Regions from separate parts of the Homo sapiens genome. Here regions 1 and 3 are each linked to region 2. Evidence: promoter capture Hi-C in human tissues and cell types (Jung and others, 2019). All regions are on one chromosome and are shown on one strand. Each heading gives the region's core, a stretch centred on a gene start or on the middle of the fragment in contact. The rest is flanking DNA. Distances are from core to core; before and after follow the strand shown. Region 1 overlaps SUFU (SUFU negative regulator of hedgehog signaling). Region 2 holds the start of NT5C2 (5'-nucleotidase, cytosolic II). Region 3 holds the start of ACTR1A (actin related protein 1A).

Region 1 (2,774 bases), core at 65-2,564, 570 kb after region 2:
TCCTGGCTGCCTCCCTCTTCGCTCCCTCTGCTGGGGGACTGTCTCTGCCAGGACCAAAGTGGCGAGTGAGGCAGGGTGTAGGGACAGCCTCTGGACAGAAAAGGAAAAAAAGAAAAAAGTCATTTTTAGTGACCTACTTTCCTCTGCTCCCCCAGGCTTCTGTCCCTCTTGCCTGGACTGTCCCCCTCCTACCCCCAAGCTCAAAGCAGCAGCCTGGCACAGCGCCATCCCAGTGCGACAAGGCCTCTCCGGAAGCGCTTCTGGGCAGCTGGCTCTGGTCTGACTGAATGGGGAGCTGGGACTCAGGGACCAGTGACTTGTGGGGGTTGATTGGCTGGCATGGACTGGGTGCTTGATGGCTTTGGAATATATAAATGAACAAATTTCTCAAGCTGCATCCCAGAGGACAGAGGAGACCCTGCTCTATTGAGGTGACCCTGGCTCTGGGGAGTTCCTGTCCAACTGGAGACCTGGACTGGACGGTCCCGCCCTGTGCACTCCCCTCAGCTTCCTAAACACCAGAGGCCTGTGTCCTGGCTGTTGCAGCCCAGGGAGCCCTGGAAGCTGGAAGCTCCAGCCCTGGCTGGAACCTAGCTCCCGCCTGGCCTCCCTCTTGGTAGAAAGCCTGGCCCCTGGGAGGCGAAGGAGTTCTCCCCCAAGCACATTTCCTGGCAGACAGGACAAGGGAAGGGTCTGCCTCTGCCACAGGCAGGGCAGGGCCCAGGAGAGCTCTCCAGAGGCCCGGCCAGCCTGCTAGAGTTCACTAACCCATGGGGCACTGGGGCCAGGAAAGCTCCCATCCCACTGGGGTGCTGCGGGCAGGAGCGGGGGAGGGGAAGGGATTTTCCAGGATGAGGTAAGCCCTCGCAAATAAGGATGCCGGGAACAAGGGAGAAAAAACAAAGGGGATTATGGACTCCATTCCTCTACCCCAGAGGAGCAGCTAAAGAAGGCACAGCCACAGCTGGCCTGCCAGCTCCTCCAGCTCTGAGCCAGGGCTGGAAGAGGGAGACTAAGAGGCACAGCTCATGGCTGGAGGACGAAGAAGGGAGAGTGGCTCCTGGGTGGCCCGAGGCGAGAGCAGGAGTCCCTTGCTGCCCACCAGAACTCCCCAGCGGAATGTTCTCTGGCAACAGACATGGGCGTTCTGTTCAGAATCTGCCAGGGAACAGCAGGGGCTGGGGAGAACTCGTACTAGCCTGAAGGCCCTGGCTTCCTCTTCAATGAGGCTCTCAGGAGCTGGCAATTCAGACGATTTGCTGGGTGTCCTTACAAGGGCTGGGGGTAGGGCAGGGGATGGTGAGGGTGCATAGAAACAGAAGAGAAATCTACAGTCTCCTCTCCAGCCTATCCCTGCACCTTGGGGAGGAGCCCACAGATGCAGCCACACAGATACATGCAAGCACACACGCACCACAGGTACACACGCACACATGCATGCACAGACGTGCACACGCACGCACACACATGGTCCCAGAGACGGGACCTGTTGTCAGGAAAAGTCAAACAAGCTTACTTCCTCTGGAGAAGTCAAATCTTCTAAATCCTCCAACATTTTCTCTACAAACTCTTCGGTCAACAGAATCTGTGAAGGCACAAGGCAGGCTTTTATTATTATTTTTAAATGTATGATCTTTTTGCCAACCACCAAGCGTTATACCTCTCTTCTGACCATGGAGGAGAGATGAGCTCACTGTGATCTGTTCAAGGGACACAGGGAAGTGTTTGAGGCCTGTCCCCAGCTGTCATTCCCCCCACACCCTCACCTCCCTGCAATATCAGACTGAGGCATAGAAGGAAAGGGGTCAGGGGACAATGGGGAGGGGAGGGAGGACACTGGGAGAGCTGGGAATGCTGCTCCCAGAAGGGAGATGAACACTGGTGGGGCCGGTAAAAAGGAATCTCAGGAAGAAAAAGGAACAGAAAAGAAAAATTAAAAGGAAAAAAAATTAAATTAAAGCTGCTGCCCAGTCAGGCTCTAGTGTCCCCCTCTGCCCCTCACCGTAGAAGGACAAAAGGAAACTGTTTGGATTTGGAATACAAGCCCTATCTGGAATCTGGAAGTGCCCTGGAAGGTACATCCAAGAATGTCTGAGCTGGAGAATCTGGAGATTGTGGACCAACGTCTCATTTTACAGATGACAAAGGGACTCCCAACTTCCATTCCCATTCACAGTAGCCACATCCTCCCAGGCTGGAAGCTCCCAAGCCCCTGACCTGCTGTGCTCGATCAGCCACTGAGTTCCTCCAGCCTTCTTTGAGGTTCCTCTTCTCTAGGTCACCTCCCAGCATTCCACGTTGCTGTTCTAGTCTGACACCTCATTGCCTCTCGCTTTGATGCTGAGTCTGGCCCCACTATTTGGCTGGCACAAACACCAACTTCATCCGCTAAAGAAGTTTTCACAGCCAATACCAACGTCCAAGGGCTCTCAGGCCCTCTAAAACCGGCCTTCCTCAATCTGCTGGGCCATTCTTCCCCACCCACCCCTCTCGTCAGGCTGCTAGGCAGAGCCAGGCCAAGCTGATCCCAGGTCTGCACCCCACCACGCCCTGGGTGAGGGTGTCTTTCCTCTTCCAACTGTGACCCCTTCCTTCACCCCTCCCCCTCCCTGTCCTTGTCCCCAGGGCCTCCCAGCCTCCCTCCACTGCAGACCCTTCTGTACCCCCAGGCCACAGCTCTACCTGTCTTCTCCCGTACACCTTGAGCACCCAGGTAGGGCACAAAGGAAGAAAGATAATGGGGTGAAGATCCAGGTGAGGGGCTCCTCTGAGGG
Region 2 (3,246 bases), core at 12-2,511:
TAGAAGGTGAGGGGCCCAAGGTCTATCCTTAGCTGACCTGAAGCGAAGTTGGCTGAGAAGCACAAGAAGGGGTAGAAGTGCTCTGGCGGAGCACTTATTAAAAAGACGCGGAGGTTTTGGTTGACTGCAAGCCCAATATGAGTCAACAGTATGGGTGCCAAGAACTTTATCGCAGGAGTGCAAAGCGATAGGTCCCAAAAGGAGGAAGCTATAGTCCTGCTTTGCTCTGATGATACCACAAACATTTGGTTCAGTCTTGGGTGATGTATTCTAAAGAAATCACAGTCAAATCTACCATTTGCGTGAGAGGGATAAAGACCCTCAAAACCAGGGCAGAGGAGGAACAATGGAAGGAACGGGAGACACTGATGTGGAATGAGAAGACCTTGGGCAGAGGTGATAGAAGTAAAGTATCTGAAAAGTCAAAGGTCCAGGAGAGATTAGACGTTTGTTCTCTGTGGCTCCAAGGCATCGAATTTCGGCCCTGAGAGTGGAAGTTTAGACACATTTTCTCACTGGTGAGAGCTGCTCGGACCAAGGAATTCAGTCCTCTGGAAATAGCTAGCTGCTTTTGCGGAGTCTTCCTGCTGAGTTGCTGGTGGTGGGGTGAACATTTATTGAGTGCTTACTGTGTGCCAGGATCCTGCTGAGGGCCTCACCTATATTGTGTGATTTCATCCCGTCAACACCCTTTGATGTGGGGACTGTTGTTCCCTATCCTGGTGCTACAAATGTGGGCACCAGGTATAGGAGGTCAGGTACCTCGCCCGAGGTTACAGTTTGTAAGTGGTGGTACTGGGACTGGAACTCGTTCTGACAAACTTCAAAGCTGGTGTTTTTAGCCATCAAGGGGATTCGAGGGTGCCATGGGGGTGTGGACGCATGAGGGGCCTTGAGGTCCATTAGACCAAAACATTCTGTGACTGGGAAAAAGGATGCCCTCTCCTCCCAAGGAAAAGCTTCTTCTGAATGAGACACAGTGGAGAGGTTAGCCCAGGGCCAGGCTGAGGGGCGCAGGCAGAATGCCAAGGGATGGAGACCCTCAGAAGGGCAAAGCCGGTGTTCCATCGTTTGAAGATCTCCAGACCCGCGGGACAGACAGACGCAGCGCGGTCAGGGAGCGTCGGCTTCGCCGAACTCTGCGGCGGAGCTGGGGGACGGAACAGCGCGCCGGTCCCTGGCCGGGCGCGAGCAGAGGGGCGGCGCGGGGCGGTGCCGGGCGGCGGGGGCGGGGAGGGCGCGCGTTGAGGCGGCTGCGGCAGTTGCGCGCTGGGATTGTTGCGGTGCGCTGGAGCCGGTGAGTGCGGCGGGCCCCGTGGGCGGGCGGGGAAGGAGCGGGCGAACGGGGAGCTAGGTGGGGAGGTGCGCGGCCGAACACGCGACCCCAGGGTAGCGGCCGCCGCCTGCCCCCGCCCCCGGCCCCCAGGGACCATGGCCCCAAGGCCCCTCTCCTTAGGCCGAGTCCCCGCCAGCGCGCTCGCGGACGCCGCACGCCTCCCAACTCCCTCGGTGCGGCCCCCGCCCCACGGCAGCCCCTTCCTCCGCGCCGCCGCGACGCCTCCGGCCCACGTCACGCTCGCGCCATTGTTTCCCAGCCGCCGGCTCGCTGGGACCCCGCCTCAGCCTCCCAGCGCGGCCGTTCGCCGCGTTCCGCCCTCTTCCCCCCTTTCCTCACGCTGGTGGTAGCCCTTTCCTCAGTCCTGCTGACGTCCTCCAGCTGATTCCAGGCTGTTCCCGGCCACCCCTGAGGCCGTCTTTTCGCTTCTTGTAAAAGCCTCCCCGCCCCCAGAGCTCCTCGGTCGCCTCCCGAGAAGCCAAGGGGCCTCTGGTGGAGCGCCAGGTTGACAGCGTTTTAGCAGGACCGCGAGAAACGGCCAGCTCGTTTGCCACACGCCCGTGTGCAACACTTCCTGGAAAGGTCACAGCGAATTGCAAGCCGCCACAAAAAACATCCGGACAGCTCCTGGTCAGGGGGCTGAGCCGTTCAGTGGCGGCCTATTCTTCTCCTTTTTTCGGGGCTCCTGAAATCGGAGAGGGCGAGATGCCGATCTGAGGCCTGAACCCTTAGTTTAAGAAAAACGTTTTGGGGGTTTGACTCCGGCAGGCCACAGCTTCTAAAAGCAGCAGGTAGAGGCTGCTGTCCGAATCGACGTTTTCCTGGGCTTTCACCTTTAGGGCCTTGATGTTTGAGGGGGGTCGTGCTCTGAAGTACAGCGCCCCGAAATGACTAGTCACCATTACAGGGGGGTGTGTGCGCGCCCGTCCAGGGGCCGATGAGTTCTTCAGGATTGAGCTGTACTTGGTTCCCAGTGTCTGTAGACTATTCATTTCGCCTCTTCAAGCAACGAATGCAAACTACTGACCATAATGTGAAAGGGAGAATATTGAAACTGTGTCATTTACCATGAAAACTTAGTGTTATTGCGTAGAGAAGGCTTTAGGTTTCAAAAATATTTACCACATGGCTTTTCAACAACGGTTAGAATTTATCCAGATGAAGACATCCAGGCCTGAAAGGGTGAAGTTCGAAAAGAGAAAAAAAATAGGTGTGAGCTGAGAGTGGAAAAAAAAAAAAGAACAAAAAAGGTTAAGTTCAAGAAAACATAGCTGGTTAGTAATTAAAATAAAAACTCCACATGCAGGGTTGATACTAGCATACACAGACTTATTTCTGAAGTGCATTTCCATTGCAGTGTAAACCACTACATTTCAACAGTATAGGTAGCTGCATTACTCTCATTGACCCAGAATTAAGGTTTTAGGATTTAGTAACCAACAAATCTGTAAAATAAGGTGGAGGGGCGCGGGGTGGAGTGGGGGGGGTTCTGAAGGAGATGTTATGCAAGATTCCTTTCAGTTCAAAGGTTTGATGCCATTGTATGAAAATTTACCATCAGCTACAAGTTTTCAGAAGTTTGTAATTGTAAGAAGATTTATATAGATAGTATTCCCTTATAGTACCTGCCACCCTTAACCAGAAGACATCACATCTTCCTAAAGAAAGCCAGATTACAATAGAATGTTAGGCACAGAGGTGCTCATTAATCTTTCTCTAGGCTATTTCTCCTGTTTTATGGGGAAAGAGGAGTACATAAAACACAGGTTTTTTTTTTTAAGTATTTCCTCTCTCTCTCTTTTTTTTTTTTTTTTGAGACGGAGCTTTGCTCTTGTTGGCCAGGCTGGAGTGCAATGGCATGATCTTGGCTCATTGCAACCTCCACCTCCCGGGTTCAAGCAGTTCTCCTG
Region 3 (3,158 bases), core at 1-2,500, 690 kb after region 2:
GCCTCGGGGCGGCGGGGCGCTAAGGGGGGCGGGGCGCCGGCGCACCCTATCCAAGCACCCATTGGCTAATGTCTGTGCCAGTCACAGGCAGGGAAGGTGTGACTTGACAATAGGCCCCGCCTCCCCTCCCTGTGTTGGGAGTGTCCCAAGGCTCTTGGTCTCCCCCTAGTGTTAGGAGGAACCCAAGTTTAGAGATGCTGAGCACCCTCTGAGGTGCTAAGGTCCCACGAAAGCAGCGAGAAGTGCGCCAACAAAGGATTTGTTACTGTTTTGCTGACGCGCTGCTAACTAGGATTTAAACATAAATCTGACAATGGATTGATTCATTCATCCATGGGGCGTTAGTATTAATAGATGATAATAAATCTAATGTTTTCTAGGGCTATTGACAAAAAGGTCCCTGAAATTTCAAGGGGGCTGGGGGAGAACATAATCCAGAGAAAAAAATGCACTGGGCTCATTTGAAAGCAGTGACACATAACCTCTCTTCACCTCCATTTTCTCAACCATCAGTGTCAATTCTAGCTCGTTATGAAAATTAAAGAGATACTCGAGCAGTTTCTGAAACCCTTAGATGATGTTTTAATGACCAAAAGATTACCTATACCAGTAGTTCCAATTGCCAATCTTCGGATCAATGTTAGCCTGTTATGCAGAAAAAAAGAAAATGCAAAAGGCAACGACAATGTACAGGTTTTTAAACTTAAAGCTAATTTTATGCAATTTAAATTGTTTTCCTTTGTTGTAGGAATATGTCCTCTCGCGTACGTGTGTTAACATTTCCTTTTTGTTAGAGTGTGAGGTGCTAGGAGATGTTTATTAAAGTCTTACAGACCCAAATAAAAACATGAGAACCTTATATTGTCTAAGGGAACGTCGGGGGGAGTGGCAGGGCTGATCTGCAAAATCCAAACATCCATGAATTACGACCAATCCAAACCGAACTACAGACAAGTACTCGAGAAGACTACATACCTCAGCATGCACTGCGAACTCCTTCAAAGGGACTACAGATCCAGGCATGCAACATGACCATCAACCTGTGTCTCTGGCTGTTTAATCTAGGGAGACCACAAATCCCAGGGTACTGCGCATTGGAAATGCGACTCCCAATCTTAAACTAGGCGGGCAACAAAGCAAGCTAGATCGCTAACCCAGGCGCAAAGCTTGCTGGGGATTGTAGTTCTTCAGAGGCGAGGTCGGGCCGCTCCCTCGCCGCCCTGAACCGGCGGCTAGACTGCGCATGCGTGTCAGTGGCGCTAGCGGCGGACCCGGCTGGGCAGTTCCTTCCCCAGAAGGAGAGATTCCTCTGCCATGGAGTCCTACGATGTGATCGCCAACCAGCCTGTCGTGATCGACAACGTGAGTTGCGTCTTTCCTATCTATAAGGGGACTTGGGCTCTCCTCCTCGAAAGGATCGCTTCCCGGGGTTCAGCCTGAGCCGCCGGCTCTTTGTCACTGGCCCGGCCTGTCAGGCGCGTTCAGCCACCGCCGCCTCCTTCCTCCCCTTATCACATAGTCCGCAGGCAAGGCGGCCAGCCAGCAAAAGTGGGATGGAGAACTCTGGAGTGGATAAAGGAAAGAGTTATAGTCCAAGCCAGTCCTTGGGCCCTTGGCTCTAGGGGCCTTAACCGCTGTGTGAGATTCCCGTCGCCCGCCCTCTCCCCCATTTCCGATCGCTCTATTGGTTGCTCTGGCTGTCCATCTTAGCCAATGATACCGCCTCTTAGCCTTGCCGGATGAGGCTAGGCCTCTGCGGTGATTGGCTCACGCCCCTGCCATTCTTCCTTGCCGCCATATTGTTTTCCCTCTTGAAGGGGCGGGGCAGTGCTCCAGGGCTGTGGGGATTGGCTTCCGGGACTCTGGGTGGTGGGGCCTAGAGGCGAGTGCCCGCCCGCGGGTGGAGAACGGCTAAGTTTTCCTTCGGTCTCAGCCGGCGCTGCGGCTTGGTGGTGTGGATCTGGGTGGGGCCCGAGAATCTGGTGCCAGAAACCGCTGTAGGATGTCAGCTATTACTGTGATTATAAATTACAAAGTTGGTAAAGGTCGAGAAGAAAGGAGAGTGACAAAGGAAGCAGAGAGGTTGTCCTCCTCTTTGGAACGCCTAGTTCTTACGGGGAAAAAATTACCAAACTTAATATTTGCCTGGCGCTCTAGCGCTTCCAGGGCGTTTTCACATACATTCGAGTTGGATCCTCACAAAAACTGGACGCATAGTTTAAAAGGAACTTTGATCTTCGTGTTACCGATGAGAAAACTGAAGCGCGAAGACGTAACGTGAGCCCAAGGTCACATAGCAGAGGTGCCCTAAATCCAGTACTTTATCCGTCATCCCTTTTGCCAGCACCACCATGCAGAAGCATCAATATTGACCAATAGAAAGAATCTAAATACTGCTCTTATTTTGGGGGGAAAGGAGAAAATTGTAAAACGACTGCATTTCTGCCTTCGATTCAAAGCTTTGGTCCCACAGAGATTGATCCCTGTCTGTGTCCCTTGTAGGTCCCTCCATTGAGGCAAAACTACCAGTTCCCTCTGTTGTAAGCTGACTCTGTCAGATTCCCTTTGTTGATTCAGCTCTTGGGACCTTAGGCATATTACAATGTTCTCGTTTAAGCTTCAGCTCTGTTAGGTAGATAGGAATTACTATCCCCAGTGTATGCAGGGATGTTAAATAACAGATTTCAAACCATCCAGTTTAGGAATTGAGGAGCCAGTCATCAGACTAAGATCCAGTTCCAAGTTGCTTGCTTTTTCCAATATATTTTTGTTGTTGTTTTCATTAAATTTTCCTTCTCTCCATGGGTATTTTGTTTTTATTATTCCCCCTTAGAAAGGGGCAGGATTGAGCTCAATGAGACAGCTCATTTTTTTTTTCTTTTTTTTTTTTGGAGACAGGGTCTCGCTCTGTTGCTGAGTCTGAAATGCAGTGGCGCGATCACAGCTCACTGCAGCCTCAACCTCCTGGGCTCAAGTGATCCTCCCGCTTAAGCCTCCCGAGTAGCTGGGGCTGCAGGCACGCGCCACCACCCCTGGCTAATTTTTGTATTTTTTGTAGGAAGGGTTTCACCATGTTGTCCAGGCTGGTCTCAAACTCCTGGGCTGTTGCGATTCTCCTACCTTGGCCTCCCAAAGTGCTGGGATTATAGGCCTGAGCC

The links. Contacts are between HindIII fragments. The study calls those that stand out against the background at their distance.
Region 1: a fragment that was not itself captured here is called in contact with the fragment with the promoter of NT5C2 in region 2 in 1 of the 25 tissues and cell types used here (aorta).
Region 3: the fragment with the promoter of ACTR1A here is called in contact with the fragment with the promoter of NT5C2 in region 2 in 1 of the 25 tissues and cell types used here (hippocampus).

What each region holds. Positions count from the first base shown.
Region 1 is chr10:102,625,986-102,628,759 of GRCh38, reverse strand. It overlaps SUFU (SUFU negative regulator of hedgehog signaling), which reads right to left. Exons shown (of 12, transcript NM_016169.4): 11 at 1,517-1,585. Among named protein-coding and RNA genes, the nearest start is that of TRIM8-DT, 16 kb to the left of the region's middle. RefSeq lists an enhancer at 1-301. The HindIII fragment of the contact is 4,548 bases long and covers 1-2,774 here.
Region 2 is chr10:103,191,287-103,194,532 of GRCh38, reverse strand. NT5C2 (5'-nucleotidase, cytosolic II) reads left to right here and starts at 1,261. Exons shown (of 19, transcript NM_001351169.2): 1 at 1,261-1,297. RefSeq lists a silencer at 1,167-1,446 and enhancers at 1,145-1,831, 1,832-2,520. The HindIII fragment of the contact is 10,406 bases long and covers 1-3,246 here.
Region 3 is chr10:102,500,804-102,503,961 of GRCh38, reverse strand. ACTR1A (actin related protein 1A) reads left to right here and starts at 1,250. Exons shown (of 11, transcript NM_005736.4): 1 at 1,250-1,362. The coding sequence starts at 1,315. It also overlaps a transcript of SUFU not described here. RefSeq lists silencers at 1-174, 852-921 and enhancers at 1,272-1,371, 2,766-3,158. The HindIII fragment of the contact is 1,714 bases long and covers 100-1,813 here.